7 separate regions of the Homo sapiens genome follow, and regions 1, 2, 3, 4, 5 and 6 are each linked to region 7. The links are contacts of gene promoters, found by promoter capture Hi-C in blood cells and fetal thymus (Javierre and others, 2016). All regions are on one chromosome and are shown on one strand. Each heading gives the region's core, a stretch centred on a gene start or on the middle of the fragment in contact. The rest is flanking DNA. Distances are from core to core; before and after follow the strand shown. Region 1 has its middle 5.4 kb from the start of INAFM2. Region 2 overlaps PLCB2 (phospholipase C beta 2). Region 3 overlaps KNSTRN (kinetochore localized astrin (SPAG5) binding protein). Region 4 has its middle 8.2 kb from the start of BAHD1. Region 5 overlaps PHGR1 (proline, histidine and glycine rich 1). Region 6 overlaps IVD (isovaleryl-CoA dehydrogenase). Region 7 holds the start of SRP14 (signal recognition particle 14).

Region 1 (4,097 bases), core at 1,598-4,097, 290 kb before region 7:
TTTCTGCTTATTTTCCCCAGAAACAAACCCCCTTGAGGAGTTTGCTCTGTGTGTCCCAGAGTTGTTTTGTCACCCAAAGGAGCAGCATGACTAGCGTTTGCTATGGTCAAGGGACAGGAACTGGGGATCCTTGGAAGCAGGAGAGCTTAGCTTATCTAACAAGGCACAAGTTTGGAAGGTTGCACCACAGTCACCTCCAGCCCCGACCCTGTCAGGGACGAGAACAACAGGAAAAGATCGCACTCACCCCCCAAAACAAGAAGGAACTGTCAAAAATCCTAATACAGCCACATTTTCTTATTTTAGGGACTAAATCAAGGGGAGGGGCCAAGGGAATAGAACTAGACACCATGTCACTTCCATCTTGAGTCACTTATCCATGTCCACACACCCCACACACATCTCTGAGCAAGGGTTATCAGGGCTCATGAGGAAGGGTTGACAGGGGTTGACCACAACCCCACCAAAGTGGGAGAACTCAAGGCTGGGAGAGGGAAGGAGAGCAGCCAGCAGAAAGCATGGACTGCAGCTGCTTTCTCTCAAGTCTGCTGGGCCTTACGTCACAGCTGCTCATTAAGCACCCACTTGACGCCGGGGAAGTGAAATAGCACAGACCTGGCACCAGAAAGAACAAATGTGGCACCCACTGCTCCTTTTAAGGACTGGCTCAAGAAGCAGCAGGCCTCAGGGCAGGAGGTGAGGCAAACACAGCAGTACCTTCGCGGGAGAGGGAGGGGACTCGTTCAGGGCTGCCTCCTTTTTAACAAGCTCTCCAGGGCAAGTTCTGTGGCAACTGTCAAAAATAATGGACAATGCAGCCTTTTTCCCTTTTCTTATAAGCACTAGGGACACTATTTCCTCTTCCCCCAGCAGGACTGCTGTCTTTAACCAAGAGAAAGGGTCAAAAGGCACCTCGATGACCATCTGTCAAAACAGAAATACCCTACCCCTAAGTTACAGCATCAGAGGAAAAGGGTGGGCCAGTGGTTCTGACTTCAGTGTGCATCAGCATCACCTGGAAGGCTGGTTAAAACAGAATGCCGGGCTTCGCTTTCTGAATTTCTTCTTCAGTTGGTCTGGGATGCGGCCTAAGCTGTCATTGTTCTAACACATTCCCGGGTGACGCTGATGCTGCTAGTCTAGACACTGGTGTAATGTTTACCACCTACCCCTTCACATTTCTTTCTGTGCATCATATTGCCCAAGGGACAGACATTCCCTTGAAAATATATTACTTCATGTGTACACGTTGTACTTTTACTCCCAAGATCTCAAAGCCCTTTCATATCTATAACCTCCATTTGCTCTCAGGAATTCCCATTTGGTTAGCAGAAAAGAGAGAGGTCAAGGGCCTTAACTAATGCCATTGTTGAGTCCCCAGGCTTCCCATCTTCCAGTTCAGGGGTCCCTCCCAAGAACACACAGTCTCCCTGCCCAGGGCCTTGTGATGCCGTGAGCTGTCTATACCTCTAAGCCTGACTGCTGTGACTCTACACCATCCAGGATACCAGCAAGGAGCTGAGGGAGCAGGTGGGCCTCCAGGACACAAGTGTGGGGAGACCTCAACTAATGACTCTGAACACTGAGGTAGCAGAGAAAGGTATACGTATGTCAAAGGAAATCCTTGGTAATCAATGCAATTGCTTTTTTTTGGACAAGTTGGTTTTTGGAGTTTTGAGGCTTACTTAGCACACTGTAGACACCAAATAAAGACCTAAACTAAACTAAAGTTCTTGAATTAAAGGTAATGGTTTGTGGAAAATATCCCTAAGGATATTGGCTAAAATCTTATTGCTATTTAACTGATAAGCTATTGCAAAAACAGAATACTGAAGTTAAGAAAACAGGATAGTTTGACAAGGGGAGACTTGCGGGCATGACTGTAAATTCCTTGAGAGTGATTTTCTGGTCCTTTAGTGGTAGCTTAACAAATGTTTATAGAATTGAATGGGGCACAGGATCCAGTGAGGAGCACTGACCAGGTGGCTCCCATGCTGGGTATTTCTGCATTTAGGGTGGAAAGCCTGGTAGAGTCTAGGTGAGGGGTAAAGAGAAGTTTGTTTGCTTTTTCAGTTAGCTACTGGAGGGGACAAAAAGCATAACACAGGCTTTCTGGCAGCAGAAAACCACAGGCTATGTCAGCAAGTAAAACAGAGGTAACCAAAAAAACTGTCGACAGAGCAGATATTTTTATAGCTTAACATGAGGCTGCAGGGCTGGGACCTAGGAGACAATGAATGGATCACATATCCTATGGTGTGTCCGTTAAGCACCATATGGAATACCACTGTGGACTTGCGGCACCCGGAAAGAACAGGAAGGCCAAGGCCGAGTCCTTCAACTTGGAAATAAAAAAACTGAGGCTAGAGAGATCAGTGCAGCTATGATTTGCAGGGGTTTTCTTTAGCAACCCACCTCCTTGAACCAGATTATGGGCTGTGGATACGGGTATGCAAGTAGATTATGACAGGGACACCACAATGACACTAAGGCTGATTCCATCAGCACCCAGCACCCACTGGGTGCTGATCAACTCAGAGATCAACAAATTCTGAGTACCCACTGCCAGGCACTGAGTGAGTACTGGTCATGAGAAACAGGCAAAGCCACTGCAGTTTCTCCTTCCACTGAGGGAGATGGAAAACGAAAAGTATAGCTGTGGCCCTTTTGTTACTGAACTGAAATTCCAGAAATACCTCCATTCTCTGTAGACAGGAAAGAGAGGACAATTATTACCCCTTTTACATAGCTGTGGTAGTCCTAAAGCTTGTGACCTGACCTTTCAGCTCTCCTTAAAGAAACATGTAGAAACAAGTAGATGCTATGCATTCAGCATTTCAAGACAGGATATAAATACTCCACGAAAGAACACGCTATCTCAGAATTCCCCAGTGAAAACTGAAAAAACAAGGTAGACAGAAAAGCTTCCAAAACATGGTCTCATACCATGTGGAAATCTAGGGCTGTTAGGAAGAGAAATATTTCTTATGCTTAAAACCTCAGAGAAACACTTCATTGTACCTTAACATTAATGGGGAAAGTGAAGATACCCTCACAAACTCAGCCTAATGGGTTCCTTCCCTGATCCTCCACCCCCCAAAACTTCACTTTCAAAACAGGCTTATCTCTTTCTTCAAGTTCAGGCCGTCAGGGAATAAATGAATGCACACCGTTAACTTCTAATATAAGCAAACACCTAGAAAGGGTCCTGGTAGTCCCGGTGCAAAGCCTTTGAAGGAAAGTAACCCCCTCTGCACAGATCTCTCCTTCCTGGCTTAAAACTTGATGGACAATTTTGCAGCTGATTTCTAACCCTTGGAAATAAAGCTATTCAGACCACTGCTCCTCAGCCAACCAGGCCCTGTCTCGTCGGCTAGCAGGCTCCCACTGTACATATTGCTGTATGTGCCCAACATGTGAAGCCGCCGTGGGCAGCTGTAGAAGCCACATGTCACTGTCTGCAAAAAGGAGGGGCCGACCAAAAGAGCCTTGGAAACTCTTTCACTCCCCTTCTGCTCTACCTTACCAAGCCCTCTCTCAGAAAGCCATTGTGTAGGCTGAAGAGGGAAATAAAAGAAGGGCAGACTTTTTCCATGCCTCCCTGCAGACTACAAGGTAATGTAAAAGAACAGTAGCTACCCCCCAACGGCTCTGCTGAAGTGCAGGCCTCAGGGGGCCCCACCAACACTGGCTTCTCACTCCGGATTTGTACCGGGCAGTATTGTCTAATAATGAGCTGAGCTCAATTGCTTACCATATATTTTGCAGCATAACTAATCCCTTATATTTGTGCCTTTCACCCACATGTCTTTTTTGTTTGCTTGAAGGGAAGAAAAAAACCTCACCTTTGAAGCAACCTAAACCTCTCAGCCATTTACCTCCTCCATGGTAGACAAAGCTCTGACCAAGCACCACAGATGTACACTTGCCTTTCTGGTGTTAGCACTTCTTGAGTTATCTAGAGGCCAATGGTTGAAAGGTGAGGACAGTGATGCTATCAGGCAGCTTATCCTCACCTCAGTGCTTAGCCAGCTAAATGTTTGCAGTAAATCTTAATATTCATGCTTACTGGTCCCTTAGCTTTGTCAGCTAGGCAT
Region 2 (3,726 bases), core at 1-2,500, 260 kb before region 7:
TTCTGAAGCACGGGGAATGGTTCCTTGGCTGGGCAGCAAGGACCGTGGCTGGAAGCCAAGGAAGGGGAGCGGCAGCTCCTGGGCTCGCCTGGGCTCTGAGCTTCAGAACTGCGCACAGTGAGCTGAGATGGCAGGGATCTGGGAGGAGGGGTCACCTCCTGCCCCTAAAGCACCCCAGTCTGTCTGGGAGGGGTGGCTTACACCCCCACCCCCGGACTAGTTTGCCTATATTTGCCTAATGCTGGTAGGAAAATTGGAGGAAGGGATTGGTGGGAAGCGGGGTTTCCTGAGACTGGGAGCTAAGAATCTATCTTCAAACAAAAGTGGCAACCAACACACACAGGACTCCCAGGCCGGCCTCCCCGCCTGCCCGCCATCTTGGCTAACCTTTTCCTCAGGGCCTCTCCTTCCCATCCCAGCCGCTGGAGTCAGGGACAGGAAGATGCTAAGGCCTGTGGTTCCTGGGATGGGGATGGGGTTCTGCCCAGTGGGCCATAGCCCAAGTGGCTGAGGGGAGGGCCAGAGAGAGCCACACTGGGCAGGGAGGGAGCACACCTCCATCCTAACCATACCACCACGTGCTGCAGAGCCAGAAGCTCCGGGACGTCTTCAACATGGACTTTCCTGATAACAGTTTCCTGCTGAAGACACTCACGGTGGTGTCCGGCCCGGACATGGTGGACCTCACCTTCCACAACTTCGTCTCCTACAAGGAGAACGTGGGCAAGGTGTGCCAGGGAGCACTGGGCCTGGGTCTGGGCCCCTGGGATAGCCTGGACTTCCTGAGAGACACAGGCCTGGGCGGGGGTGCTCAGGAGCCTGACCGCTGCTCTCTGTGGTCCTGCAGGCCTGGGCTGAGGACGTACTGGCCCTAGTCAAACATCCGCTGACGGCCAACGCCTCCCGCAGCACCTTCCTGGACAAGATGTAAGTGCCCTCTGCCTGGCCTGAGCCCTGGTGCTGAGCATGCCAGCCCTGGGCCTTGACGGGCTGCTTTCTGCCCCCAGCCTTGTGAAGCTCAAGATGCAGCTCAACTCTGAAGGGAAGATTCCGGTGAAGAAGTGAGCCCCCCAACCCCTCCCCAGGCTTCCAGGGGCTCCCCAAAGCCTTTCTTTCTCAGGCCTGACTCCTCTCTGTACCTGGTACCTTTCTCTGCCCCTTCAGCTTTTTCCAGATGTTTCCTGCTGACCGCAAGCGGGTGGAAGCTGCTCTCAGTGCCTGCCACCTCCCCAAAGGCAAAGTGAGTGGATCTGCACCCCTGCCCATCCCCCAGCATTCTTGTCCCCACCAGAAAGCAACTTGGCCAGGAATGGTGGGTGGGGGAGCAGAGGTGACATCACAGCCCCAGCCAAGAGCCTGGAGAGCCAATCAACCCTGGAGCTGCTGGTTACTGACACTAGGCACAGGGGTGGAGCCAGGGCAAGGGAGTGAGACCCTGAGCTCCAAGCAGGTTTGTCTGTATCCCCTACCCTGGGTGGTGGGGGCGCTGGGGCTGTGGTTGATGGACTGTGTTCAGGGCAGGCAGCAGAAACGGCATGCATTCCCAGTCTAGTGTTGGGAATGGGAGCTGAGCGTGAATGTTTTCAGCCTGGAGGAGCGAGATAAGGTCGGCAGTGGCAGGCGGCAGTCTGCAGGGATCTGGAAGTCTGCAGCGTGTCGAGGGAGAGGAACTGAACCAAAGGCGGAAGCTGCCAAGATGCAGACTTCTGCTCTGTACAGAAAAGCATTTTTCCCTGTCTTTTTAGTTAAATAATTAATTTTTAATTACAAGTTGTAAGCAGGGTCACCCCATGAAGCAACTTGTGTGAATTACAAAAAGGAGCCCTCTGGGCTGATATGGCCCTGAGCTAGGCTTCAAGCCTGGCCAATGGAGCGAATCTCAGCCCCTGTCCCTGCTTGGCCAGTGCTCTTGTGTGGGTCCCAGCCTATACCCCATGGAGTATTTTCTCCTGGTAAGAATTTGGAACGTTATAAATAAATAAAACCACGACCCCCATTGATCACCTGCCCACATGAATCCCAGGAGGAGCATTTACCCCACAGCCACAGCTCTGCAGAGTTGGTGACTCCTTGATGCAGTCAGTCACAGGGATCCAAATGTGGCGTTGGGGAGAGGTAGGAATGGGCTCCTGCGGCTCCCCTACAGCCAGCAACACTTACCTGTGGTCAGCACACATCCACCCTCCCTCTCTCCTGCTGCCTGAGCTCCTCCCTTGGCTAAGTCCTCCTTATCTATCTGCTTTCCTTGTGTCTCAGTAGAGGCTACTGACCCAACTTTGCTTGGAGCTGAAGCTCCAGAGACAGGGAGGGGTTTGGGGAGATCCAGTTAGACTCTCCTGCTCAGACCCTCTGCTCCAAACTAAGACTGATGTTGGCCTTCCAGTGTGATTCTGAAAGACATTTAATGTTTTTTTTGGGGGGGGAAGGAATGCAAAGGTGCAGAATCCCTGAATACCACAAATGTACTTTTCATTTCTATTTCTATAGATTTGCCTATTCTGGTGGTAAAGTAAATGAAATCATAAATATATGCTTTTCGATGTCAGGCTGTATTCATTTCTCATAATGTTTTCAAGGTTTATCCATGTTGTAGCATGCATGAGTACTTCATTCCTTTTTACCACCTAATAATATTCCATTGTATGGATATACCACATTTTGTTCATCTGTTTATCAGTTGGTAGATGTTTGGGTTTTTTGTACTTTTTGGTTATGAATATTCATGTACATGATTTTGTGTGAACATGTGTAAATTCTCTTGGGTATATACCCAGGGGTGGAATTGTTGGGTCATGTGGTCACTCTATATTTAACAATTTGAGAAACCGCCAAACTGTTTTCTAAAGTGAGAGCATTGTGTAGGGATTTATTTATTTATTTTTGAGACAGAGTCTCACTCTGTTGCCCGGGCTGGAGTGCAGTGGCGTGATCTCAGTTCACTGCAACCTCTGCCTCCCAGGTTCAAGCAATTCTCCTGCCTCAGCCTCCCAAGTAGCTGGGATTACAAGCATGTGCCACCATGCTGGGCTAATTTTTGTATTTTTAGTAGAGATGGGGTTTCACCATGTTGGCCAGGCTGGTCTCGAACTCCTGACCTCAGGTGATCCACCCTCCTCGGCCTCCCAAAGTGCTGTGTGGGGTTTTAGGTTAGTCACATCCCGCTGACACTTGTGATTGTCTGTTTTTTGTTTTAGCCATCCTAGTGGGAGTGGTATCTCATTGTGGTTTTGATTTGCATGTCTCTAACTACAAATTATATTGAGCACCTTTTCTGTGTTTATTAGTCACTTATATATCTTCTTTGGAGAAATACCTGTCCAAATCCATTGTCCATCTTTCAACTGGGTTGTCTTTTTGTTGACTTATCTCTTATCGGATATCTGATTTGCAAATATTTTATCCCATTCTGTGGGTTACCTTTTCACTTTCTTGATGGTGTCCTTTGAAGCACAAAAGTTTTTAATTTTGATGACGTTTAATTTATCTTTCTTTGTCCCGGTGCTTTTGGTGTCTCCAAATATTATTGTTGAATTGTCCTCCTTTCAATTCTATCAGTTTTTGTTTTATATATTATGGGGTTCTGTTGTTAGGTGCATATATGTTTATATTCAAATTGCTTCTTTTTGAATATTTGTCCTCCACTTAAAAAAGATAGCCTACTAGCCTGGCAAGCAGCATCATTTCTTCTGACCTCTTTTCTACCTCATTCTGGTTATTCTTAGTTCC
Region 3 (3,898 bases), core at 247-2,746, 360 kb before region 7:
GGCTAATTTTTGTATTTTTAGTAGAGACAGGGTTTCACCATGTTGGCCAGGCCGCTCAAACTCCTGACCTCAGGTAATCCACCCACCTTGGCCTCCCAAAGTGCTGGGATTACAGGTGTGAGCCACCGCACCCGGCCTCAACCATTTTAAAGTGTACAATTCAGTGGCATTAGGTATATGCACAATGTTATGCAACCACCACCACTTTCCATTTCCAGAATGTCATCATCCCAAAGAGAAACTCCCCTCCCCTCCTGCTCAGTCCCTGGTAATCTATATTCTACTTTGGATGGATTTGCCTACTGTAGCTACATCACATTAGTGTTTCTGTGTACTTTGAAGCCAGATTGGCAGAGAAAGAAAAATGGTAAGGAAATAGCTTCTTGAGATATTTGGCTGTGAATATAGTATATGTGGTAGCTGGAGGGGATAAGGGTGGGGTTTTGGCTTTATGTTTTAAGATGGTTGCAATTTGAACTTAAGAGTCAAAGTTGAGAGTTCCCAAGTCAGAAGGAAGTTGAATAACTGAGGCCTGCAAAGGCATGGTAAGATCAGCGACTGTGTTTTGGGGTGGGGAGAAGGGGGCACTGGAATAGAAGTTTGGGGTGAATTTATGAAGGGAATCTTTTGCCAGGATAAGTTTTAAACTTTAATAATATCACCACCAGGATTTGAGTACCTTTGCCAGGCACTGGGTTAGGTACTGGACATAATTCTCTTTTATAACCACCCAGCAAGACAGGTATTATTGGTATGAACTTATTCATACTTTTTTCTTTTTTGAGACAGAGTCTTGTTCTGTCACCCAGGCTGGAGTGCAATGGTGCCATCTCGGCTCACCGCAACCTCCGCCTTCTGGGTTCAAGAGATTCTCCTGCCTCAGCCTCCCGAGTAGCTGGGACTACAAGTGTGTGCCACCACACCCAGCTAATTTTTGTATTTTTAGTAGAGACAGGGTTTCATCATGATGGTCAGGCTGATCTCTAACTCCTGACATCGTGATCCACCCACTTCAGCCTCCCGAAGTGTCAGGATTACAGGCATGAGCCACTGCACCCAGCCTGTTCATACCAGTTTTATTGGTATGAACTCAGTTTGAGAGAATTTGCCAAAGACCAGTTTTTAGTGGATAGGCTCAAAATATTTGAAACATAACCAACTTTGTGAATGTCTGTATGAGAAGGCAAACAATTTTGGCCCTTTAAGCTCAGGTTGGAGTGTTACTGGCTTCACTGAGTGTCTCTGGGCAGCCTTAAAGATGCTGAAGGGTGGGGGTGGGAGGGTTTGGAGAAGAAATTAGGAGGTGCAGAAAGAACAGGAGATGGCCAAAGTCAGCCTAGTTTGGTTAAGAAAAAAATTTGGCCATGCCTTTGGTAAACCGGGGGGAGGCCTGTCATGGACTTCAGGCCATGTACTAAAGGATCTATTGGACCAGGCCTAGGATTGGCTGTGCAAAGCAAACAGCAGGCAGATAATCATGCTTAAGAGTGCAGGGAGGGCTGGGCGTGGTGGCTCACGCCTGTAATCCCAGCATTTTGGGAGGCTGAGGTGGGTGGCTTACTTGAGGTCAGGGGTTAGAGGCCAGCCTGGCCAACTGGGCAAAACCCCACCCGACTCTACTAAAAATACAAAAATGGCAGGGTGTGGTGGCTCATGCCTGGCCTCAGCACTTTGGGAGGCTGAGGCGGGCGGATCACTTAAGGTCAGGAGTTGGCCAACATGGTGAAACCACGCCTCTACTAAAAATACAAAAATTAGCTGGGTGTGGTGGTGGGGGGTGGGGTGCCTGTAATCCCAGCTACTCAGGAGAATTGCTTGAACCCAGACAGCGGAGGTTGTGGTGAGCAGAGATCGCACCACTGTGCTGGGCGATAGAGTAAGCAAGACTCTGTCTCAAAAAAAAAAAAAAAAAAAAAGGCCGGGTGCAGTGGCTCACACCTGTAACCCCAGCACTTTGGGAGGTCGAGGCGGGCGGATCATGAGGTCAGTAGATCGAGACCATCCTGGCTAACATGGTGAAACCCTGTCTCTACTAAAAATACTAAAAATTAGCAAGGCGTGGTGACATGCCCCTGTAGTCCCAGCTACTTGGGAGGCTGAGGCAGGAGAACTGCTTAAACCTGGGAGGTGGAGGTTGCAGTGAGCCGAGATCACGCCACTGCACTCCAGCCTAGGCAACAGAGTGAGACTGTGTCTCAGAAAAAAAAAAAAAAAAAGAGTGCAGGGAAAACATGGGCAGCAAGTGGCCACAGACCTGGTGAAACCACTGCTACAAATGGGCAACACCCTCAGGAGACTAGCCAATGCTCTTGGGAGACAGAGGGACTAGCCACAGGACTCTTAAAGAGTAGCAGAAAAATATTCTAGATTAAGTCAGAATATCTTGGACTTGTTAACTAAATTAGTTCAATAATGATCAACTGACATATCTAGGTTAAAAGGCTATTTTCATTCCTCAATGTTACAGTCAGAATATTTACAGAAGTATTTATTTTAAAAGTAGACTTAAAAAAGAAAAGTAATTTAGATTAAAAGATCCAAGGTGTATTGTTTCATGTAGGTGTTACTGCTACCTATACTTTCACCCCATTTATTAAGCCCAAAACACTTCAAGCAACTTCAGGTTCATAAATTAATAAGGAGGTACAGAAGCCCAACCAGGATGGGAAAGAATGTGTTTCAGGTTAGAAGGGGACAGCATGGCTCCTCAATGATGTCTTGTATGGAACATTTGTGCTCCACTGTAATGAAGATTTTCTTCCTGAAAATCTGAATGTGACATTTTAGATCCTCTGGTTGTTGGTTTAGTCTCCCGATTGTAATGGTGTGCTGAAGTCAGGTGGTTGACTAGAAGGTCAATCCAAGCTCCTAGGCTCCCCTCTCTTGTAGGCCTCAATTATCCACCTGTGAGGCTCAGGAGGGCTGACCAACCTGAAGGTTGGGAAAACTTGCTTAAATGAGGAATTGCCATTTCAGCATAAACTGTCCTTAAGTCTACTGTAGAAATTGTTTTCATTCTGGAGATGGTGAGTCCCAGAAGATCATGGCCAAGATGATGTCCTAAGTAGCTTCCTCTGAGATTTTATGCCCAAGAGGGAGCCATCTGGCCACTTGCTTCTTCTTACATTTCTAATAGCTGCTCCATTTCCTTAAGGGCTGTTGTTAAATCATTTACTTGATTGTTACATAAGGTTTGCTGTTCTAGGAATCGGACTCTTTCCTCTTTCATCTCCAGCTTTACCTTTAAGGCCTGCATGGAAAGACATTCCAAAAGAAAACAACACATACACAAAACTCTTGACTAACAGGAAACACAATTCCCACATCAGAACATTATGCTCCTATTCCACTAAGGAAGACCACTGGAGTATCAACAGACTGTATCTTCTATTTTAGATTTTATTTCTATGCACTGGTTTTAGGAATTGTCCCTCTAGTAGTAGAGAGGGACTAGACTCCTGTATCTAAACTGGAACGATGAAATCCTCTACATTTGGTGCAATATCCCATGATTCATCCAAGCAATCTGAAACAGTCCAGACCAAAGAATCTGTGCTTACTACAGGTCTTCTCCTTGAGTTATCAAGTTTCCATAGAATGGATTACATATAGTTCTCAATTCCCAACTCTGAGCAACCTACTGTGTTACACATTGCCTCATGCCTTGGTGATGTGAACATTTGCAAGAAGCCTCGGTAACAGAAAAAAAAAAATTAGTGGAAAAAACTGCTAAAATCCAAATGAAGACTTGGAATATAGTTAATAGTAATGTACTGATGTTGGTCTGTTTTTTAAAAAATTTTTTTCCTGCCGGGTGCAGTGGCTCACACCTGCAATCTCAGCACTTTGGGAAGCCTAGGCGGGCAGATCACCTGAGGTCAGGAGTTCGAAACCAGCC
Region 4 (3,968 bases), core at 1,420-3,919, 390 kb before region 7:
CGTGCCCATTCATATTTGTTTATGGATCTCCCAGAGTCCTCCAGAATCCTCATACTCACAGTCCAAGCCTGACTTCCTGGAAAGGTCTCCCGAAGCTCAGGTGAAACTCTCCTGAAGCTCAATTCCACCTTGCTCCCTGCTGCCCTGAACTCTATGCACTCCAAGTTGTCTCCTCCTCACACATTCCTGACCATCTGCTGCTTTGCCCGTAAGTCTTTATTTATAAGATTATAAACCCCTGGAGGGCAGGCCTATGGCTTTAACATCCTCTTTATGGCTTCCTGTGTGTCTAGCACAGTCCTGGCCCCAAGGAAGGATGGCATTCTAGGTCTCTCATAACCTGGCCCCAGGACATACAGCCCTCTACCTCTCCCCTTTCACAGGCACACTTAGGGCTCCCAAACTAATAGCCTTTGAGCAAAAGTAAGCAGGCAGACAAGTTCCATTTAACTGTCTATGGGGCTTTCAAAAAAGATTAAAATTAGGGGCCAATGCTGAAATTTTTGGAGATTCAAAATAAAAATCCAGGTTTACAGTTTCTCTTGAAAAAAATCAGAAGATTTGCTACCCCTGGCGCACATTTTCACTTGCAACAGTAGGTTGGTACTAAGTAGCAAATGCAGTCTGTATGGGGTAGGCATGCTCCAGTTTACCATACTCCCACCTTGCCCATGTGGGGCATTTACGGGACCTGAACCCTGAAGGTTTTCAGGTGTGTGATCCTTGCCCTGCACTGTGGCCACAGAGACATGGATGGGTATCGTGGTGCAGCCCTTTGCAGTGTCTAGTTCACTGGAACCTACTCAGAGAGCCCTGTTGCATTCTCATGCCAATCTCTAATAGTACCTTCATTATTGCCCCAGGAGCAGATGTTTACTGAACACACTCCAAGATCCATGGACCCAGGCTGGAGACGAAAAGGGAAATTAAACATGGTCCAGAGTTTGTGGGCTCTTCTAGGTGACTCCTGAGAACATGGCATGATACCTGGCAAATAGTAGTTGCCTAATAATGCTTGGTGAACTGAATAGTAAACAATTGGTAAATAGAAACTGAATGGATAAATACACAGAGAGGGGAGAATTATTCCAAGAAACATGACATTTCTGTGATGATCTAGGTTTGGGTTGCTTGGGACCTCAGCTTCCAGGGTCACCTCCTTTACTGTTACCAGAACACTTGTCCGCTCAGATATCAACTTGGAGTATGACTTCTCCCCTGAGGAACTCCCAGTGCTGTGGACTGGAAGACCAGGGGTGCATCCACTATGTTGGTTCCTTTATTCCAGACGTACAGACCCCTGGGAAGATGAAGAAATCCAGATCTGGAATGGGCAGTGTATTGAGAGCCTCCAAAGCCGGCAGGAGGTCCAGAGGGGGCAGGTGTCTCTTACAGAAGGCATGAACAGGCACTCAACATACGTTTCTTTATTTAACCCTCAAGAACTCTGGTAGGTAAATGTACTCTCAAATTTACAAACAAATGAGGAAACTGAGACCTGGAGAATCTAAGTAACTGCCCAAGATCACATAGGCTTGGAGTGGCTCCAAAACCTTTGCTTTTTTTTTCATACGGCATTTAACATATAAAATAGAGGTCTAACCCTTTATATGTCTAAAAGCTTTCTTCTTTCTACATTTCACATAGCGTAGTGGTTAAGAATGCAGACTTTCTGAGTACAGTCCTGGCGCTACAGTGTCTTAAAACATATAAAGTACTTAGAATAGTACCTGATGTAGCCACAAGTGCCCCCAGAACATTAGCAATTGTGAATCTATTTCATCATGCCCAAATCTGGCCATGCCTGAAGCCTGCCCTGCTTCCATACTGGAATCAGTCTTCCACCTCTGTTTTGTACTCCTTGTCTCCCATCTGGAGCTCTGACAATGTAGTGCCTGTGGCTGTATTCTGTCCACCCAGCAGTGGGCCCCACTCTGGCTTCAGTCAGGCAGGATGGCTCCCTTTGCTGGGTTTGGAGGAGAGGCCAGCCCCTCTTCCCATGGCTTCTCCATTCCATCCTCCCAAGGCCAGGGCCCTAGCCATTTCCCTCTTCGGGAAAGATTCTCTGTGGCATCCCTAAGCACATTCCTCAAGGTGAGGTAGTTCCATCTCCTACAGGCTCTCAGCCACAGCCACTGACCTCTCTAGTCTTGCAAAACCCAGAGCAGAGGAGAGAATCACCTGTGGTTCTTTTGCCATCTTCACTTAACCTCAGTGAACCCACAGCAAGAGCCAGGACCAGCCCTTTCCAGCAGACACCCTCTGGGGGGACTACAGTCTGGGCCACAAGTATGGTGTTAACCAACCATGGTGCCACCTGTGCTCTGCACTGTGCAGGCACCAAGAAGACTTGGGAGGCCATGCAGACAGCATTGCTTCTGACCTAGGAAAGCTACTCCACCCAGCAGAGGCGTGATCCTCAGAAACTGAAGAGCACATCAAAGAGTGTATGACCTAAGCAAGACTGGGCCAGATGATTAGTAACTGGAAAAGTGACATCAAGACTTAGATATGATAGGCCAGGCGCAGTGGCTCACACCTGTAATTCCAGCACTTTGGGGGGCCGAGGTGGGCGGATCACTTGAGGCCAGGAGTTCAAGACCAGTCTGGCCAATGTGGCAAAACCCTGTCTCTACAGGTGTGGTGACACGCATCTGTAGTTCCAGCTACTCAGGAGGCTGAGGCATAAGAATCGCTTGAACCTGGGGGGTGGAGATTGCAGTGAGCCAAGATGGAACTATTGCACTCCAACCTGGGTGATGGAGTGAGAATCTATCTCAAAAAAAAAAAAAAAAGACTTAGATATGAGAGGCCTGACAATTTTTCCCCTTGATTTGTGAATATTATACTATATTTAAAAATCTAATAAGGGCATTTATAAAAATTACACTTAGTTATATAGACAACAACTCTTCTTTGTTGAAAGGGATTATGGGAAATCAGCAATTGCCTTTTTCATTGCTTCCCTCTGTCAGGGTGTATTCTGTGATAGGTAATGTTCCTGGAGAGATTCCATGAGTTAGGCACTGTGTTAAGCTCTTTACACATAATCTTTTTTTTTTTTTTGAGATGGAGTCTTGCTCTGTAGCCCAGGCTGGAGTGCAGTGGCGTGATCTCAGCTCACTGCAAGCTCTGCCTTCCAAGTTCACACCATTCTCCTGCCTCAGCCTCCCGAGTAGCTGGGACTACAGGCGCCCGCCACTGTGCCCAGCTAATTTTTTGTATTTTTAGTAGAGACGGGGTTTCACCATGTTAGCCAGGCTGGTCTCGGTCTCCTGACCTCGTGATCTGCCTGCCTCGGCCTCCCAAAGTGCTGGGATTACAGGCGTGAGCCACTGCGCCCGGCCTACACATACTCTTAATCCCCAGCCAGTCTTATGAAATAGATAGTGTTATTATTCTCATTTTACTAATGAGAAAACTGAGGCATAGAGAGGTTCGGTAACTTCCCAGGGTCACATTAATAATAGTGGAGCCGGCTGGGCACGGTGGCTCACACCTGTAATCCCAGGTCTCAGGGAGGCAGAGGTGGGAGGATAGCTTGAGCCCAGGAGTTCGAGACCTGTCTGGGCAATAAAGCGAGACCCCGTTCTCCACAAAAAGGAAGAAAAAAAAAGACAAAAAAAAAAAAAGCGTAATAATAGTGGAGCCAGGGTTTACATCCCAGCCTTGTCACTTTTAATGATTTCTCCATCACTTCTTCCTAAATAAGCTTCCCCAAACAATTCTCTACTCTTATGTTTTCCAAATGTCTGTTAGCAACTCATTCAAATTTTACACATGAAGTTGCTGTGAGCAACATTCATCTCACTGTTAGATTGGGGGCAAAATGTTGCAAGTCGATTGTCATATTTCTTTATAAAAAGATATTCCTTTGGCAAAGCCGTTATCAAAAGTACCCTTTCCCTGCCTTCTGCACTCTCTTTGACACTGAAACATCAATATGGTCTTTCAAGAACATCAGATAC
Region 5 (3,709 bases), core at 421-2,920, 310 kb before region 7:
TAGGAGCAAGGGTGAGGCTAGAGGAGGCTACAGAAGAGCTCTTTGAAGGCCAGGGGCAGGGGGAGACAGGAGGCTGGGTCAGGGGAGATGAAAGAGCTGAGGAGGGGAAGAAGGAAGACAGTTGGAGGATGAGAAGACACGGAGGGTAGGAGGTGGCAAGGTGAGGATGTATGTATTCTTTTTATAGGTAGTGTGTATGTGTGTAGACGGTGTGTGCCATATTTATATAAAATAGCTATGTTTGTGTACGTGTGCATGGGTGGGTTCATATTCAAGCTTGGTATGTACACAGATACGTGCATGGAGTGCATGGTTCTGTGTACATGAGTATGTGCGAGCTCATACCTGTTCCTGAGCGGATGCCAGACCCAAGAAATCAGGAAGAATAGAAAGTAAAATCAAAGCTTTTCTGCCTCAGTCAGAAGAGGTCTGGAAAAAGTGTGGTTTAACCTTCCATCTTGGCTGGAATCATTCCTGAAGTCCCAAGGCCAGGGGAGTTTTTTGTTTTTTTTTTGTTTTTTTAACTTTTTGCCACAAGCCCAGGGGGCAGGCAAGAGATACCACCTTGCTTCTGTGGTAGGGGACTCGGGGTCTGGGGCCCTGTGGAGCAGGGCGGGGCTATGCTCCCACTGTCTGGGCTGGATAACTCCCCAGTCTCCTTCTGCCTCCTAGGGCTTGATTAGGGCTTGGTACCAGTGGGGAAGAGGCAGGCTCCAGGGCTGGGCGCTTTCCTGTGACCATGGTAGAGCAGCCCCTGCCCCATCCAGGCTCAGTGATGCCTGGAAACAGCCACTTCCCACCCCACCTGCCTCTCTGCCTATGGCTCTTTTGTTTGGGGGTTGGCACACAGACCAGGCCTAGGAACTGAGTCTGCTGGTGGTAGCCAGTGGGTGAGAAGAGGTGGAGGAGACGCAGTCTCCTTTCTCTGGCAGGAGTAGGTCCTAGGGGCCCCATAGTGTGGTTGGAGTTTGGGAGCAAGCCAGCTATCCAGCAAGGCTGTGGGGGTAGCCAGGAAAGCAGAAAAGCATAGCACAGGCGGGGAAGCAGCAGGAGAGAGGATGGGCTGCTAGGGCAGGGAGGGGACGTGAGGAAAGGAGAGAGACAGATGGGAAAACAGAGGAGAGAACGCCAAGAAGGCTGCAGCCAGCAGGGGGTGGAGGAGTGCAGCGCTGCCCACCCCACCCCCACTCCACGGGGCTGCTGCCTGAGCCTGCTCCCTTCTTTTCATTTGGGGGAAGTGGTGGCTGCTCCCTGAGGGTCTAGGAAGGAGGCTAGGGGTCTGGAGGACATGACAGTGGGAGGAAAAAGGGGAGACCATTGGGGGAACTTTCCTACCTTCGGACCTGTGGGAGAGGAAGGGAAAAAAAAGAAGCAGCTTTGGTCATTTGGTTCTGCAGTAAAAAAAAACCTGTCTTCTCCCTGGCACTAAGGATTTTGTGCCCACACCCCTAACCCAACAGGGCCTCTCAGACATGGTCACTTGCCTGACAATCATTCCTTCATTCATTCTCTCAGCAAAGATACATATTGGAAGTCAATATAAGGTTCAGCAGTGTGTCCCTGTGTGCTCAAGGGCTGGCTGAGTCCTCCTGGGTGGAGTGGCGCCAGTTAGGAGGTATGGGTTCTTGTCTCAACTCTGTCAGCCTGGAGGTGCTCCATGGTGGCCAACCCTGTCATCCACCTGATTCTTGCTTCTACCTCCAGGCCAGCAGCCCTGCCAACCTCCCCATCTGTCCTCTGCCCCTGTCACGCCCCACGTATCTCGGCCCAATCTCTGCTCAGCCTCTCAGAGCTGTTTGTTGTCTCCTGTTTATGACCTTCTGTTCTCAGCTCTTGGCCTTTGCTCATGCCTCCTCCCACTTGGAAATCTCCCTGGAGCAGCTGCGTGTTGCCCTCATGCAGGAAATCCACATGGGAGCCATCCAGGCTGCCCAGCTGTGGGTCCACTGGGCTCCTGCAGCACCCACCTGAGTGGTCCTGCATGTTCTGAAGTGCCCCATTGGTGTGGGAATCACCTGCTACTTCTTAAAGGCTAGGACGGTCTTTTGTTCATTTCGAGGGAAGCCGATGGCACAGCTCCCAAGAACTGGATTCTGGATTCCGACCCAGCTGCACCTCTATGGCCTTTCCCTGAGCATAACCCCTAGCTCCCCTGGGCCTTGAGTGTGCGGTGGGAGAAGCACCTACCCTTAGAAGCACCTAAGAACATGATGAGTAAGCATGCTTTTTAAACTGTAACATGTTCTACAGTATGTAAGGGCTTGTCTTCATTGTGGACCCCTACCACTGCCTTCATACAAACACACACGCACGTACATTTTTGGCACGCACTAGTTATGGCTGACTGATAGTCCCTGCCTTTACCGCTCTCCTGCTCTCTCCCTTCTTCCAATTCCCAGCCTCTCAGCCACAGTGCTTACCTGGGTCCATCTTTTTGGAGTAAGAGCAGGGAATACCTGTGTTCAAAAGGTAACTTTTAATTTACTGTAATCTAAATTGCAGTCTTTCCTTTCTCCCTCCCACGGATGCGCGCGCGCGCGCACACACACACACACACACACACACACACACACACACCCTTCAAAGGAAGAAAGGGAAAAAACTGCTCCCTCCGGCTTAGCTTGGCCCCAATATAGAGCTGGCACTGTAGGTGCCAGGCATGGGGGTTAAATGGACACAGCGGGTTCACCTACATGGTGGGTAGATGGAGACACAACAGCACCATGTACCAGCCCCTACACCCCATACTCTTACACTTGCCCCCCTAGACTCAACAATTGTGTGTTAATCCGATTCCTCTTGGGAAGATTTCAATATCCGTTCATTTGCTAATTATTCATGTTGTGTGTCTGCCCTGTGCCAGGTCATGGTATGCTTGTCCCTACAGACTCTTGTCTTGTGTAAACATCTGGCATGGCATGGGAGCAGGAAGCTTGGAGCTATCAGTGTGCCCAGTGCAGGGACGGGAAGGATGGTTTGCTAGGACAGGAATGGGGTTGGTGGCCCCTGAGGGCACAAGTGAATGGATTTTTGCCCTGGGGCTCAAGTGAATGGAAAGCCTTCCATGGGGTCCTAGCTGCTTGTACCTGTCTCCTCCCACCAGGATTGGAAGGGGGTGGGAGCTTGGAGTCTGAGCCAACTTGTCATTCACCAACAAGCCGTGCTGTCATGAGATGGAGCTGCTGAGGTAACGTGGTGCCAAGGCTGGCCATGTCTTGCTTGGGGCTGGCAAGTCACAATGGACAACCCCAGAATGGGCCCAGTGAACATACAGTACATTCATTTTTTTTCAACCCTCAAATGGGAGTGTAGTATGTGACGTCAGGAGCAAATACTTGACATCAGGGCTTTCTGGTACTTACAAGTTTGCTGAGCATACAAAAACAAACAGCGCCCCCAATACAACAACCCTAGCCTCTTGCAAGACACAGCCCCCTGAACCTCTTTTTTTTCTAGGGAGCCTTAGTGCCTCTTTAAAAGTTTTTTTGAGACAGTCTCACTTTGTCATACAGGCTGGAGTGCAGTGGCGTGATCACAGCTCACTGAAGCCTCGACCTCCAGGGTTCAAGCAATCCTCCCACCTTAACCTCTGGAGTAGCTGGGACTATAGGTATGTGCCACCACACCCAGCTAATTAAAAAAATTTTTTTTGGCTGGGCACAGCGGCTCATGCCTGTAATCCCAGCACTTTGGGAGGCCTAGATGGGTG
Region 6 (4,017 bases), core at 114-2,613, 370 kb before region 7:
TCTCATGGGGACACTTCTTTCTCAATGATATGCTCAGTTCCCTGAGCCCTCCCGACCCCCCTGGCCTTATTTCCCTCCCCCAGGGGACATTACTTCCAAGACACTGTCACCAGCCCGGTCAATTCCCTTATCCTCTGTTGTTCTCCTGTCTGTACCCAAAGGGATCCCACTAGGGCTGAACTGAGCCCTCTGTACTTTGACCTGGACTACTGGGTTGCAGCATGTTTTGGCAAGTGACCAGCAAAGTGCTGGCACATGCTGCCTTCAGCCTGTAATGAGGGTGGCATCACGCAACCTTGAGATTTCCAATCTCAGCCAGGTCCCTACTGCTCCAACCCTAGACAGCTACTTTCCCCCTCTCTATGGAGGGTACCGCAAACCTTTACAATACTCGCTCATGAAACTCTTGCCAACTCCCCCACTCGTGGCCCCAGCCTTCACAGGGCCCCTGGCTTCCTCCTCATGATCGTTAGGCAAGTGGTTCCTGCACCATCACCTGTAACCCATCCTTCTCTCTTCTGCCCCAGCTCACCATTGTGTTCTGCCCACTCATTCCCACACTTTTCAATTTCTCCCTCTATTTTCTTTTTTCTTCCCTTTTTTTTCCTTCTGACCAAAAAATCTGCTCAGTTCTCTCATTTCTAAAAACAAACCCAAACTCCTAACTTTTCATTGGAACTCCTGCTCTGCTTCCTTCTTGCTTCTGTTGTCAAGGCTGTTGCAGGGGCAGTCTCCACTTGCATCCCACCCACACCTCAGTCTCCCATGGCCACATTCATCAGATCCACCAATGGTACCCTGACCGTCATGTCCTGACCTCCTTTTAGTCCTCCCCTTTCTAGACCTCTTTGTGTGGCCTGGCGCTGAGGACGGCTCCACCGTCTTCAGAAGTGACCCATCTGCCCTGGACTTCCTGGACTTTTGGTCACCCTCCTTGCAGTCTGCTCTCTGCCTCACCCCCACCTCTGGGGGCCTTGCAGAGCACACAACACTGATTCCATTTGAGATCAGTGAACGGGCTATCTCTGGTACCACTGTCAGGAGGCAGAAGCCTCCTGGCCCTGCACCCACCTATACTCACCTTCTCCACAATGAAGGCTGTGATGCCCCGAGAAGCTGGCACAGCAGCCAGATCTGTCTTGGCATAGACAATCAGGACGTCAGCATCAGGGCCATTAGTGATCCAGAACTTGTTGCCATTCAGGATGTAGTGATTTCCTAAGGGCAGGATGTTGGCTATTTGCTCAAGCCATCTTGGCCTGTCTCAGCCAGGCCATAGACCTTCTGCTGAGCAAGAAGCTGTCCACCTTTGAGAAAGTTCTGGAAACCCAGCAGGGGCCACCCACAATTGTTGCTCCATTATCCTGATAATGTCTGTACCTCTGCCCATTTTGGCTCCCAAGTTGAGAGTGGCCTCACCTTTCTTTTCCGCTTTGAGCTTCATAGAGACAACATCAGAGCCTGCATTGGGCTCACTCATGGCCAGGGCTCCGATGTACTCACCACTGATCAGCTGCAAGGAAAACCCCCAACAGGCCTTGTTACAACCTCAGAGTACCCTAGAGCAGCTCACTGGTACTGCCTCTTCCTGTCCACATTAAACCCCTTCAAACTTCGCTCTCAGACCAGGGTGTCGGTAAAGTCCTAGAAGTCTCTTCTAAGCCCAATGGCTACAAGGCTGAAAATGCCTCTCCTTTTTCCATTCCCTTTGCAAAGGAAGCTAGTCCTACTCTTCCATTTCTTAGAGTTCTCTTCAAATGTTGTCTGTCTGTTGTTCAATGCAAGAGTTCTGGTCCTATTTTTATTATTTTTGGCTCAAGTATTTTAAAGCAATCCATGGCCCCTTCCTAACCACATTTGGTTCATGGCAGCATGCTACAGAAAGCAGGTCTGACTGGCCCCCAAGGGGAGAGGGTATCTTTTAGTTGGTGGTTGCACTGTGAGATTAGCGTGTATTACATTTCCATTTCCTCACCTTCGGGAGATACTTCTCTTTCTGGGCCTCATTCCCATTGCGTACAAGCTGGTTGATGCAGAGGTTGGAGTGGGCACCGTAACTGAGCCCCACTGCTCCGGAAGCTCGGGATATCTCCTCCATCACCAGCACATGCTCCAGGTAGCCCAGGCCGGAGCCGCCATACTGAACTGTGAGTGGTGTGGTACAAGGGAGTGGAAAACGCAGCCCAGATTAAATCGGGACATTCATTAAGAATCTTACATTTGACGGCAGAAGGGAAGCACCTTGTAGCACCTACTCCAAATTCTCTCTAGCAACAAGAATAAGCTGATGCCACAGACCTGCTTACAAGCTCAGTGGACTGGTTTTGCCTGCTGGTGCTCCTCAGCTGAGGGGTGATTCAGAAGGCAATCATTGCAACTTCTGCTTTATCCCAGACAGACTTCTTGATGAAGATACGTGAACAACCTGAGCACCCACTACTCAGAAAGTTACAGAAATGCAGAGGCAGATGAATAAATGAAGAAAGAGGGCCTGGAGAAAAACAAAGGCATTGGGGTGGAGGTGGTGTCCAAAGCACCAAGAACAGATACAAAGCCAGAGGATCTGATGTGTCTGCAAAAGGCCTGAGGAAGGTGAGATTTTATAGCATAGGGCTGAACCCAAAGAAGCAGGACTGGAGGCCAGGCATGGGGCTCACGCCTGTAATCCCAGCACTTTGGGAGGCTGAGGTGGGCAGATCACGAGGTCAGGAGATCAAGACCATCCTGGCTAACACGGTGAAACCCCGTCTCTACTAAAAATACAAAAAATTAGCCGGGCATGGTGGCGGGCGCCTGTAGTCCCAGCTACTCGGGAGGCTGAAGCAGGAGAATGGTGTGAACCTGGCAGGTGGAGCTTGCAGAGAGCCGAGATCGCGCCACTGCACTCCAGCCTGGGCGACAGAGTGAGATTCTGTCTCAAAAAAAAAAAAAAAAAAAGAAAGAAGCAGGACTGGTGACAGGACAGGAGAGCCACAGCCTCAGGGAAAATCTTGAGGTGAGCTGTACAGCAGAGGGCAGATGAGATGCTGGCAGAGAATTTCAGAACTCCTCATAAAATATACGGTTTTTCCTTGGCAGCAGATCCAAACTCCAAGTGGCTGAGACACCTGATACCACCCCCAGCCCTGCTGATTGGGTCAAGCCTAGCAAGGTCCTATACACATGTTCACTCTGACCAATAAGTCAGGCTCGTTCTAGGCTCTAAGGAAACCTTGACCTGCCCCTACAACTGCAGGAAGGAAAGCCTGAAGGCAGGTGACATTAGAAACAGCCACCATGACATCATGCAGAAACCAGAACTTGTAACCAGCTTTCTTTTTCAGGTTCCCTTGAAAGAGTTTTCATCTGATTTCTTTTCTTTTTTTTTTTCAAGAGGCGGGCTCTCACTCTCTTATCCAGGCTGGGGTGCAATGGTGTAACCATGGCTCATTGCAGCCTTGAACTCCTGGGCTCAAGCGATCCTCCTGCCTTGGCCTCCCGAGTCACTCGGATTATAGGAGCCCACTACCACACCTGGCCATTTTCATCTGATTTCTAACTGCCTCTTTCTTCCGTAAAATACAATCTGATTCAGAAGCATATTGTCTGCAGGGAGTGGGGTACATAAACCCCCAAAACACAGTAGGAGAGTCTTGCTTAGGAGTACCCAGCAGCCTTTCCCCTAATGCTTTTACATTAAGATGGTTTCAATTAATCTTCAAGTGGTTTCATTTTATGAAAGGTGATATAACTTTCTAGGATGTAAGGAGAAGTATATTGGGTTCCACTCATACTCTCATGCCCAGAGTGAATACAGGCCCAAGCAGGCTGGGCTTTTTTTTTTGAAACGGAGTTTCGCTCCGTTGCCCAGGCTGGAGTGCAGTGGCACAATCTCAGCTCACTGCAACCTCCGCCTCCCAGGTTCAAGCAATTCTCCTGCCTCAGCCTCCCGAGTAGCTGGGATTACAGGGATGTACCACCATGACCAGCTAATTTTGTATTTTTAGTAGAGACAGAGTTTCTCCATGTTGGTCAGGC
Region 7 (4,099 bases), core at 1,600-4,099:
CCACAGAAAAACAAAGCCCAAAGAATATTCCATCAGTAGTTGAATTGCACTGGATCCAGTGCAATGCACGCATTCCATGTACTAGGACATAGACATCTCTGGGGGATCATCCAGCCTGCCACCGAGATTTTTGCAGAAGTCCAGATGCTAGTGTGATTGCAATCAGATTAAACTTTCAAGATAGCTAACAGGACTCATGCAGGTGTAGATGTGAAAATTAAAAGAAAAAGAACAGCTGGTGGCAGCGGCTCATGCCTATAGACCCAAGTACTTAGGAGGCTGAGGCTGGAGGATAGCTTGAGCCTGAGAGGTGGACGCTGCAGTGAGCCGAGATTGCACCACTGCACTCTAGCCTGGGTGACAGAGTGAGACCCTGCCTCAAAAAGAAAAAGGAATCTGGGATGATTCATGGTTGTTTTTATTTGAGTAACTGGTCAGACGGTGGTGCCATTTAATAAATAGCAAAGATGTGGGAAGTAAAAAGTTTTGATTTGGTCACGTAATATCTGAGATGCTCATTACACATCCAGGTGGAACTACCAAGTGGACAGCTGAATATGCAAGTTTGGAGCTCAATACAGAGGTAAAAGCTATAATTAAAAATTGGGGAGTCATCTTCGCACACCTCAAGACTAGCAAAGATTAGAACAGTCTGGTGAAAACCCCTCCTATAGGGCCGCCAACACAAGACCACTTTGTGATGGCACCATATGAATAACCTCTAGCATGCGTGTCCAACCTTTTGGCTTCCCTGGGCCACATTGAAAGAATCGTCCTGGGCCATATGTAAAACACACTAACACTAATGATAGCTGATGAGATAAAATTTTTTTAAAAAGGGCCCATGCATAATTTTCATGATATCTGCCAATACAGATGAGCAAAAACATCCTCACATTCAAATGACTGGACACCCATGCAAGAGCCCTGGGCCTTGGTATTACTAGCTCAGAAGTCAAAGTCCTGGTTGAGAGCACCAGATTGACCCACGTTAGGTCATATGCTTGAGCCCAGGTGCTGAGGGCAGTTGAGAGAGTGACCCTCTGACCCTTCTATTTATTTATTTATTGCCTCTCACCAAAACCCACACAACAGGGGATTGCAAACAGGTTCAAATGCTGGAGAACCAAAAGCCAATACAGGTTGGCTACACAAGGTCATCAGCCTAGGGCAGGAAGTGGGCAACGGGCGCTGGCCATTTGGAAGAAAATGTGAAATCAGAGAGTGAACATATTTAAGCCATTAAGTTTGAATCTCCTAACTGGGCTCCTCATTTCCTGCCCTGTCTCTCTACAGTGCATTCTCCACAACACAGACAGGGGGATCTTTAAAAAATATAAATCAGATTTTCAGTGTTCTGTTGAAAACTTCCTTAACGAGTCTTCTCTTTGTATCTAGAACAAAATCCAGGCTTACTATGGTCACGGGCCCTACATAATCTGGTCCCCAGCTACCTCTCCATACTCCTTTACTCCTTGCTCCACAAGCCCTCCTCACCCCCACCCGCACCTGCCAGTCTTACAGACACAGGGCAACTTGTTTCCCCTTTGAAGGTTTTGCTCTAGCCGTTCCCTGTGTCTGAAACACTGTGTCCCTAGATCTTTGGATGGCTGGTCCTTTCAGCTTTCAACTCAAAGTTCTCCTTTTCGACGAGAACTCCCCTGACCCCAACCCAGGCAGTCCCCTTCCCACTCTCATTATACAGCCCTGCTTAGGCTGTCTCACGGAATTCATTATCTGAAGCTGTACTACTTACTTGTTTGCTTCATTGTTTATTTCCTCCCTGCCCCTTTAACCCAACTTCCAGGAAACCAGGAACTTAGCTTTTCTTATCCTGCTGCATCCCCAACCTCTACAACCGTGCCTGGCACAGACTGAGAGGCACTCAGCGAAAACCTCTTGTGTGGTGGAATGCTTGACTTTATAGAGGGCCCAGGGTTCAAGTTGGCTAGTGGCAGAGAGGGCTTACAACCTAGTTCTCCTGACTAATCAGAGGTAGAACTAAAGACTGGGCTCCAGCCCCTCATTTTTTTTTTTTTTTTTTTTTTTTTTGAGACGGAGTCTCGCTCTGTCTTCCAGGCTGGAGTGCAGTGGCGCGATCTCAGCTCACTGCAAGCTCTGCCTCCTGGGTTCACGCCATTCTCCTGCCTCAGCCTCCCGAGTAGCTAGGATTACAGGTGCCCGCCACCACGCCCGGCTAACTTTTTTGTATTTTTAGTAGAGACAGCGTTTCACCGTGTTAGCCAGGATGGTCTCAATCTCCTGACCTCGTGATCCACCCGCCTCGGCCTCCCAAAGTGCCGGGATTACAGGCGTGAGCCACCACGCCCGGCCCAGCCCTTCTGGCTAGAGCTGCAGGTCAGCGTTTAGGGAGAGTTTAAAGGATCTCTACAGGAACTTATAATGACAATAATGAAAAGAACAATAGCTGATACCTACTGAACACGCTCTATGTGCCAGGCACTGTTCTACGTATTTAATCTGAGTTTCATTTACGCTTCACGACCACACTGCGCGGTAGATACTATCATTACCCTTACTTTATGGATAAGGAAACTGAGTCACTGAGTTGTTAGGTTACCTGCCCAGCATACAGCTGAATATAAATCGTACGCTGCTATCAAAACTTTCTTTTGCTCTCACTCCGTCACACTGGCTGGGGTGAGACGATTTCTCGCATGTGACGACCCAGGACAGCCCCAGCGCCTCCGGGTCACAGGCCCCCGGACGTCCCAGGGCGCGGGCGCTAGGCGGGCGGGGAGGGGGGAGGGCGCAGGCCGGGATTGGTGGAAGAGAAGAGATTGGTGGAAGACAATGGAAGTCTAGTAGCGGAAGTCCCGCCCAGCCTAGGCCGAACTTCCGGCTCTCACTGCTAGGGGCTTAAGCGGAGGGAGTCGAGCCAGCGTCGCCGCGATGGTGTTGTTGGAGAGCGAGCAGGTATGGCTAGGCCTGGCCGGCCGAGGGAAGGGGGCGGCTCAGGCGTTACTCGAGACCTGTGCCTCCTGCAGGAGGACCAGGGCCTTGACGCGGCAGGACGAGGATTTGGGGCTGGCTAACGGGGCTGGGCCTGTTGTTTTCCAGTTCCTGACGGAGCTGACCAGACTTTTCCAGAAGTGCCGGACGTCGGGCAGCGTCTATATCACCTTGAAGAAGTGTAAGCAGCGGGAGGGGAGCCGGGCGATGCTCCCTGGGTTCCCGGTGTCTGGGAGCCACCGGAGTCTGTCTGCCGCGGACCGCCGCCTTCCTCTACCTTTCCCCACCCTGTACTGAGCACATTCGGGGCTTCGGGCCCGGAAAATAGTAGGGATTGTAGCTGGCTCAGTCCCCAGCACTGAGCCGCCTAGGTTGCTTCTGGTAACAATGGGCCCCAAGCAGCCCAGGGCTCTTTGTCAGGGATCCCAGACGCCGCCACTTTGAGTGGAATTTAACGTGCTTCGATATTACATGTTTCCGTCGTGGAAATAATAGTTTCTCCAGGGTTTCGCCAGACCGTGATAGCAGATGAGGTGTTTAACAAAACTAGAGCAGCGGGGCTGGGTTAGGTCATCACTTACCCCACTCCTCTGTTTTAACTGTTTGTCTGCCGCTCAGCCACGTACGCGGCCGTGTTCACCAGGATGCATTTTTTCCTTCAGATGACGGTCGAACCAAACCCATTCCAAAGAAGGGTACTGTGGAGGGCTTTGAGCCCGCAGACAACAAGTGTCTGTTAAGAGCTACCGATGGGAAGAAGAAGATCAGCACTGTGGTGAGCTTAATTTCTAAGGCTGTCTTTTGAAATGTAAAGACTTGAACTTAACAGAGGATGGGGCGTTTCTGAACCAGGCTTTTATTTGTTTTTCCCTTTTGCCCTGTGTGGCTATTTTTGAGACCAGGACCTTCCTATACTTTAGTAGTGGAAACCTCAAGAATAAAATAAGAAGGTAGAGGTCAGACAGTCGTTAGTTCTGCTAAAGCTCTTGTGGAAATGAAAGTAGCATATTGGTCCTTATTCGTAGTACTGTAAGGAGCAGCTGGCATAAATATTTGATTCCTTAGCCCCTTACTGTGCTGGGCCTTCAATAAGCAGTTTCTTGGTACCAGGTGATGCTATTATTTC

The links. Contacts are between HindIII fragments. The CHiCAGO score rates a contact against its expected background, and 5 or more counts as called.
Region 1: a fragment that was not itself captured here is called in contact with the fragment with the promoter of SRP14 in region 7 in 10 of 17 cell types (naive B cells, total B cells, naive CD4 T cells and 7 more); the score reaches 13.3 in naive B cells.
Region 2: a fragment that was not itself captured here is called in contact with the fragment with the promoter of SRP14 in region 7 in 6 of 17 cell types (total B cells, naive CD4 T cells, naive B cells and 3 more); the score reaches 7.6 in total B cells.
Region 3: a fragment that was not itself captured here is called in contact with the fragment with the promoter of SRP14 in region 7 in 1 of 17 cell types (total B cells); the score reaches 5.5 in total B cells.
Region 4: a contact is called between a fragment that was not itself captured here and the fragment with the promoter of SRP14 in region 7, in 3 of 17 cell types (naive B cells, naive CD4 T cells and total B cells). The highest score is 9.1, in naive B cells.
Region 5: a fragment that was not itself captured here is called in contact with the fragment with the promoter of SRP14 in region 7 in 7 of 17 cell types (naive B cells, total B cells, activated CD4 T cells and 4 more); the score reaches 7.0 in naive B cells.
Region 6: a fragment that was not itself captured here is called in contact with the fragment with the promoter of SRP14 in region 7 in 6 of 17 cell types (naive B cells, total B cells, naive CD8 T cells and 3 more); the score reaches 5.8 in naive B cells.

What each region holds. Positions count from the first base shown.
Region 1 is chr15:40,327,009-40,331,105 of GRCh38, reverse strand. No RefSeq gene overlaps it. Among named protein-coding and RNA genes, the nearest start is that of INAFM2, 5.4 kb to the right of the region's middle. The HindIII fragment of the contact is 158 bases long and covers 2,769-2,926 here.
Region 2 is chr15:40,299,471-40,303,196 of GRCh38, reverse strand. PLCB2 (phospholipase C beta 2) reads left to right here. Exons shown (of 32, transcript NM_004573.3): 4 at 588-728; 5 at 848-927; 6 at 1,008-1,061; 7 at 1,165-1,240. Among named protein-coding and RNA genes, the nearest start is that of PLCB2, 6.6 kb to the left of the region's middle. RefSeq lists an enhancer at 280-1,089. The HindIII fragment of the contact is 7,575 bases long and covers 1-3,726 here.
Region 3 is chr15:40,392,821-40,396,718 of GRCh38, reverse strand. KNSTRN (kinetochore localized astrin (SPAG5) binding protein) reads right to left here. Exons shown (of 9, transcript NM_033286.4): 9 at 2,431-3,250. The coding sequence ends at 3,122. Among named protein-coding and RNA genes, the nearest start is that of IVD, 11 kb to the left of the region's middle. The HindIII fragment of the contact is 6,486 bases long and covers 1-3,898 here.
Region 4 is chr15:40,430,793-40,434,760 of GRCh38, reverse strand. It overlaps a transcript of IVD not described here. Among named protein-coding and RNA genes, the nearest start is that of BAHD1, 8.2 kb to the left of the region's middle. The HindIII fragment of the contact is 2,091 bases long and covers 1,624-3,714 here.
Region 5 is chr15:40,351,979-40,355,687 of GRCh38, reverse strand. PHGR1 (proline, histidine and glycine rich 1) reads right to left here. Exons shown (of 4, transcript NM_001145643.2): 2 at 2,421-2,456; 3 at 1,336-1,343. The coding sequence starts at 2,430. Among named protein-coding and RNA genes, the nearest start is that of PHGR1, 2.8 kb to the right of the region's middle. RefSeq lists an enhancer at 759-1,284. The HindIII fragment of the contact is 2,528 bases long and covers 407-2,934 here.
Region 6 is chr15:40,408,756-40,412,772 of GRCh38, reverse strand. IVD (isovaleryl-CoA dehydrogenase) reads right to left here. Exons shown (of 12, transcript NM_002225.5): 4 at 1,976-2,145; 5 at 1,420-1,513; 6 at 1,082-1,218. Among named protein-coding and RNA genes, the nearest start is that of IVD, 5.0 kb to the right of the region's middle. The HindIII fragment of the contact is 6,098 bases long and covers 1-4,017 here.
Region 7 is chr15:40,037,931-40,042,029 of GRCh38, reverse strand. SRP14 (signal recognition particle 14) reads left to right here and starts at 2,849. Exons shown (of 5, transcript NM_003134.6): 1 at 2,849-2,937; 2 at 3,082-3,154; 3 at 3,636-3,748. The coding sequence starts at 2,914. SRP14-DT (SRP14 divergent transcript) reads right to left here and starts at 2,719. Exons shown (of 3, transcript NR_040060.1): 1 at 2,582-2,719. It overlaps LOC124903471 (a long non-coding RNA gene), which reads right to left. Exons shown (of 2, transcript XR_007064596.1): 2 at 3,621-4,099. RefSeq lists a silencer at 2,646-2,855 and enhancers at 1,941-2,885, 2,936-3,115, 3,136-3,185, 2,886-3,831. The HindIII fragment of the contact is 8,433 bases long and covers 1-4,099 here.